Linked DNA regions of Homo sapiens: region 1 is linked to region 2. The links are contacts of gene promoters, found by promoter capture Hi-C in blood cells and fetal thymus (Javierre and others, 2016). All regions are on one chromosome and are shown on one strand. Each heading gives the region's core, a stretch centred on a gene start or on the middle of the fragment in contact. The rest is flanking DNA. Distances are from core to core; before and after follow the strand shown.

The links. The method cuts DNA at HindIII sites, captures the fragments that hold promoters and counts their contacts. A CHiCAGO score of 5 or more calls a contact.
Region 1: the fragment with the promoter of USP25 here is called in contact with the fragment with the promoter of C21orf91 in region 2 in 10 of 17 cell types (non-activated CD4 T cells, fetal thymus, total B cells and 7 more); the score reaches 15.0 in non-activated CD4 T cells.

Annotation. Positions count from the first base shown.
Region 1 is chr21:15,728,518-15,731,557 of GRCh38, forward strand. It overlaps USP25 (ubiquitin specific peptidase 25), which reads left to right and starts at 1,465. Exons shown (of 26, transcript NM_001283041.3): 1 at 1,465-1,921. The coding sequence starts at 1,877. RefSeq lists a silencer at 1,070-2,029. The HindIII fragment of the contact is 4,884 bases long and covers 473-3,040 here.
Region 2 is chr21:17,817,790-17,820,827 of GRCh38, forward strand. C21orf91 (chromosome 21 open reading frame 91) reads right to left here and starts at 1,567. Exons shown (of 5, transcript NM_001100420.2): 1 at 1,514-1,567; 2 at 403-536. The coding sequence starts at 529. The region is part of intron 2 of LOC124900465 (a long non-coding RNA gene); the gene reads left to right. RefSeq lists a silencer at 1,182-1,961 and an enhancer at 2,212-2,261. The HindIII fragment of the contact is 2,618 bases long and covers 1,014-3,038 here.

The DNA of each region.
Region 1 (3,040 bases), core at 215-2,714, 2.1 Mb before region 2:
TAAAAAACAAACAAACAAACCAAAAAACCAAAACCCTCATATGGAGAAACATGAAGTTAGCATATAAACAAGAAAAGAAGAAACTTTGATCTATAAATGAAGAAAAATGGGTTTTGATAAGCTCTCTTTGACAGGTCACCCTCCTTGGGCTTCAGAGTTATAAAAAAATCGATACGTGAGATTAGAGATGTGACAGTATTTCTAAATTTCTGTTTCCAACCGTTTCATGACTTTTCATTTCCTCTAGAAAAGACATAGGATATTAATATAATAAGATTTGCAATTTGTTAAATATCAAATGAGTCAACAAATATGAAGCTTCAAGGAAAAGGTGACAACAGGTGGTACCAGACATCTGAGCTGCAGAACAAAGATGGTTGTAAAGTGCACAGAACTGTTACAAAGCCTTAAGAGCTACTATAATCCATGATTATTAAATAACACCACATACTATTTCAATTAGCATTTGCCAAGCTTGCTTTCCTTGTCATTGGATTAAAAATTATACCCGGATTTTCAAGTGTATTCTATTTGTGACAATATGCATTGATAATTTCTCTCCTCACACTGCTGCACTCTCACCTCCGTTCCCAGATTAGCTCCTGGAACTCGAGATATTTTTGTGGCTAGAGATTGCTTTCTTAATGTTAGATTTTCCTTACAATTCCATATATAGTCAAGCATTCCATGCATGGTAGTTAATTGTTTGCTTAATTTGGCAACTGGGATATTAGAATTATGTATCATTAGGCAGTGATATTTTTGTAAGGTTGTTTGCTAGATAGATCCTATTTCATTTATATTAAGTCTTGGGAAGATAAACTTTATTTTTCCAGAGCCTAGCAGTGACTGACACATATTCGAATGAATGAAGGTAGATAGAAAATGTCTATATTCATTTACGTAATGATTAGTTAAGGAGAAAAGTACTTCCCAGCATAAAGATTTCTGGCAACCCTTTGCTTATTTGACTTTTCCCTTCAGGCAAGTTCAAGGCTTGTGAAATTCCTAGAAAGGCGAGGGGAGAGAACGCGTGACACAGAAAGGGGCCGGAGTTCGGGACCCTACGCAGTTTTGGGACGTTATGGGCATGGAGGGAAATGTTTGCTTTGGAGGCTTTGGGTAAGCTAGGGATCCGACAAGCCCTGGGCGCAGGGAGGAACGCTGCCCTCCGGCCTCCAGTCGCGCTCCCCGAAGCCCAGCGCCAGCGTCGCGCAACCTGCCGCAGGGGCGGCTCCCGGGCCAGGCAGCCAGGCGCGCCCTCGCCCCACCCGGGAACGCCAGGCCCGCGCAGGGAGGGGCGGGGCTCCATGGCGGCCCCGCCCCGCCGCCCGGAGGGTCACAATGTAGGGTTAGGGCGGCCGGCGGGCGGGGCTCTGCGGGGGAGGAGCCGCCGGGCGGGGGCGGGGATGGCGCGTGGGGGAGGGGAGGGAGGAGGACTCGCGGAGGGAGGAGGACAACGCCATTCCGGGCGGCCGCTCCCTCCGTCCCCTCTCTCCCTTCCCCAAAGCAGCCCGCGGACCGGCAGCAAAGGAACGTGCGAACGCGTGACGCCGCCCGACTGGCTCGCGCTCTCCCGTGCCCCGGCGTCCTCCGCCCGCTCATGGCCCGGGCCGCCGCGGACGAGCGGCGCTGAGGCGGGCCGCGTGGAGACGTGAGGCGGCCGCCGTGGCCCTCACAGTCGGCGTTTCGCCGCCTGCCCGCGGTGCCCGCGCACGCCGGCCGCCATCGCCTTCGCGCCTGGCTGGCGGGGGCGCTGTCCTCCCAGGCCGTCCGCGCCGCTCCCTGGAGCTCGGCGGAGCGCGGCAGCCAGGGCCGGCGGAGGCGCGAGGAGCCGGGCGCCACCGCCGCCGCCGCCGCCGCCGCCGCGGGGGCCATGACCGTGGAGCAGAACGTGCTGCAGCAGAGCGCGGCGCAGAAGGTGAGGCGAGTCCGCCAGCCGGCGGGCCCCACTTCTCCTTCCGACGGGCTGTCCTCTCCCGCTGCGGCCGGGCGCCCCGGCCTCGCCGCCGCCGCCTTCCCGGGCTTCCTCCCCGGTCACCCCCGGCCCCTGCCCATCGCCTCGGGGGCGTCGCGCCCAGAGCCCAGCTGCGTGTGGGAAGCAGAGTGTAGTTTGCGGGCTTCAATCCACTTCCTTCTGCCGATTGTTTTCCCGTAGCAGACGGTGCCAGGTATTGAGAGCGACCCTCACATTCCTACAGTGCTCTGTGTGGCATCTTAATGAAACTTTATTCTCTCCCCTTAAATGAGAAAGAATAGCTAGTTGTCATCCTTTCTGAACCGATTTTGTCTTTCAAAGGTAGTAGTGTACCAGGCCTGCTATTTTGCAAAACGGTCTCCACCAAAATCGAATTACCTGCCTCGCGGGGCAGGCGTGTTGACCAGGTGGACTCTAGAAGTAGGTGGTTTGCTTGGTTTCTTTTCCTTTTAAGGTTTCCCTTTCTTCTTCTTCTTTTCTGTTTTTTTTTTTTTTTTTTTTTTTTTCAATATAGAAACTGTCCCTAAGAGAGGAAACCTTTCTGGCCATGTTATTCCAGGAATCTTTTGTCCCCTAAGTTTGACCTTGTTCTTTCGTTCACCCTTTACTCTTGCATCAGTCACACATTCAAATGGTCACTCACTAAAGAAAACAATTAAAAAACTGTTTGTGAAACTTTATATCTTTAAAGTGAATAGAGATCATTCTGCTATTTTAGATTTTGCTTTCAGAATCTTAAGTGCACTATCATGGCTTGCACCATGTTCTGAAGAGTAGTTGGCCATGATTTAACTTCTTTTTTTAATTTTTAATTTGCGTGAAAAGCATTTTGGGCAAAAGAGTAAACCGTGCCTTAGTTGTGTTGGTATTACGGGGACAGTTAGGGTTTACTGTGATCAACCACCAGAGTTATGTTTGGTTTATCTGGGTGAGTAATGAATGCCCCACCCTGTTGTAGATTTGGTGTAGATTGCAATATTCTACCTGTGCTTGACTTTAGAATAAGACCTGTTCTAAAATGGGCTGTCTACATACAGCCTGCTAAATTTTTGCTTTGAGATT
Region 2 (3,038 bases), core at 317-2,816:
TCGGGCTCATCTCACTCAAATACTTGCATAATAGGCTCGAAAGAATAAAAAAATTGTTATGTTACTTCTTAATATAAAAAACACACAGGTCTGTTAAAATCTGACAATTCAATAAGCTCTCAAACCAGAAAACACGTTTCCCAGTCAACACTCATACTTATTTCTGTATTAGGAAAAATGGGGTTGTTGCAGGGGTCTTTAAAAAAAAAAGATTTCTCTTAAATTCGTAACTCTGTTAACTGCACCTTCATTTCCAGAAACCTTATCTTTAACAAATCTCTACACTATTCATACTTAGCACAATTTCCAATCATTGAAGACATTTTAGTTTTACCTTACAATCAGTACAAAGCAGCTGTGTTAAATTCATTCCATAAGATCAAAACTATACTGTGTCCTTACCCTCAATATTTAGCTCAAAACAAATGTGGCAGAAGGAGAGTGTTTCTTTGTCTGTTCCCAGTTTACAAACACTGCAAATGTTGTCATCATTCAAATCAATGTTTACAAACTGCTCCTCTTCGTTCATAGTGCCCCTATTAAGAAACAGAAAAGGAAAGTTACACAATTTCATGAACCTGCCTTTGGGGTAGTTCCCTTTACTGGGAACTTCTAGGAAATAAGGATGCTGTTCAGCTCATTTAAAGCAAAAGCTCCATCAAACAAGCATCGCCATACTTGCACTCCAACATTGCACTTTTCCTGTGGAAAGACACAAAGCTAGTAAAACTTAAAGCCAGGCCATAGGTGACACTATGTCCGTGTCTTTTTTGTCCTATAGTTGATTGGGTTAGTGGCACCTGAAGGAAAGAGATTTGCCGGCATTCTAGTCCTCCTCCTTCGTCCCCCAACCTCGAATAATCAGAGGGCTTAGCAGCGAGGCCTTTTCAGCTACCAGGTTCTGTCAACCTAGTTAACGCTGTGAGAAACAGGAAAAACGACCTGCACGGGACACTGCTTTGCTAACTTCATTGGGGGAACCTCAGATGCGCCTCGCGAACTCGGAGTTGCGAAGCTTCGCATCGAACGGAGATCGGCGGCAGCAAAATGCACGTGGGTACCGAATACCCGGGGAGGGCGTCCCGCCGTGTCCGGGGCAACTACACCGAAGGCCGAGCGGCGGCTTCACGGTACCGGCCGGGCACCGCCGGAGGGGCCCAAGCCGGAGCTGGGAGAGCCGCGGCATCCTGGAGCCCGGCGGGCGGGAGAGCCTCGTCCCATCGCTCCGGGATTCCTCCCAGAGGGAAGAAAGCGTCCGAGGGCCACGGCGGCCGGTCCGCCCAGCCTCAGCGTCTCGGGGAGCCGGGTCCTGGCCCGGCCTTCGGCGTTGGGGGCGCGCGGCCGCCCCCAGGGAGTCGCGGACCCAAGTCCGTCTTTCCGTCGGTCTGTCCGTCGGGGCGCCTGGCGCGCAGCAGCGCGAGGGGCCACGGGGCTCGGAACTCGAAGGAGGCGGAACGATGGGACTGGGGGTCGGGGCTCAGGTGGGATGGGAGCAGGGCTGCGGGGTCTTTACCGTCCGGCTCCGCGGGCCACCACCGCCGTTCCGTGCGGCTCGGGTTCCTCCACTATTGTTTCCGGCCGCAGCAGAGGCGGCCGCCGCGCGCCTGGCCCCGCCCTCTCCCGCCGGCTCCATCCCGTAAAGGCTGCGGGGAGGGTGGCGCGGCCGCGGGCACACCTGCGCGCTCGCCGGGCTGCTGTGGGTCCGCCCCTCCGCTCCTGCACCGACGCCGCACCTTCGCCTCGAGTTCTCCTGTGATCCCGTGTTTCCTGGCCGGAGTTTCTTACCGTTCTCTGGAACGTAGCTCCTCACACACCCCTCCTCGAGGTGCGTAGATAGACGAATCCGTTCCACCTCTCCCTTCAGCCTAGTGCAAACTACTGCCCCGGGGCGGGGGCCGCAGGCGGCGGGGGTAGGAAAGCCGCGGGTGGATGGCAGAACGGGAGAGGTGCGTGGGTGGCACTTTGACTTCAGGAGAAAGAAGCAGAATACTGTCACTGAACTTATAGTTAAGTGCCAGTTGAAGTATCTAACGAAGGAAAAGTTCATATTCAGGTGTCATGATAGAGGCATAATTTCAAATACAGAATCTTTTCAAATACATTATTTGTTGTGGGGCGCCCCTGCCCCCAATATGGTACATCCCTCAACGCCCACGGGAAAAATCCCGAAGCCCCACCTCTTATTTTTAGGTCCTGCTTGGTTCTCAAATTCTTTGCTTGACTTTTGTTTAAGCTATTCTGTTTTTTTTAGGGTATGGTTCTTGCAGTACTTTCACTTACATTTTCCATTGTAGTCCTCACAGTAACCTACAGAGGAGAAACAGGAACTGTTCTCTCATGTTGCAGCCTACGAGTAATTGACCCAGGTTATCACAGTTGGTTAGAAAAAGGCTGGGACTTGAACCGAAGGCTACTGACCTAAGATCAATGTTATTTTCTACAGCATCATATGTATGTGTTCTGGTTGCACTCACATAGAAAGAGGGCTAGCCTGTCAATCTACATGTAGGCATTCTTGAACTGATGGTTAGGAATGGACTGTCTAGATCTTGGAAACTTCTGGGCCAAATTAGCACTCCAGTTATGGCATTTGTGCCTCGCAGGAGCGATCTGTGTCCTTGCCACCTAAATTGTAGTAGATGAACAAACAACATTGACATTACTTGGTTTCCTGTTAGAAATGTAGAATCTCAGGCCCCACTCGAGATTTCCTAAATCAATACTTGCACTTTAACAAGACCGCCAGGAGATTCCTATGTTCATCGAAGTTTGAGATGCACTAATTGAAATGAAAAGCCTGTGCTTTTTCTCTTCGAATTTCTCATTCTAGGTAACTACGACTAAGATACCTTGCATGTTGGATTCTACCCATCTTTTCAATAAAAAGCATTCTTTTAAAAAGGACTCTTTTAAAGTGATTCAATAAAAGTGTTCTAAAATCACTAAAATTTAAAAATTGAAACAAGTTATTTTCACTTCTCAGAATTGTCTTCCTTCCTATGGCATTTCACATTGTTTACTTGCTATTCTTAAAACTC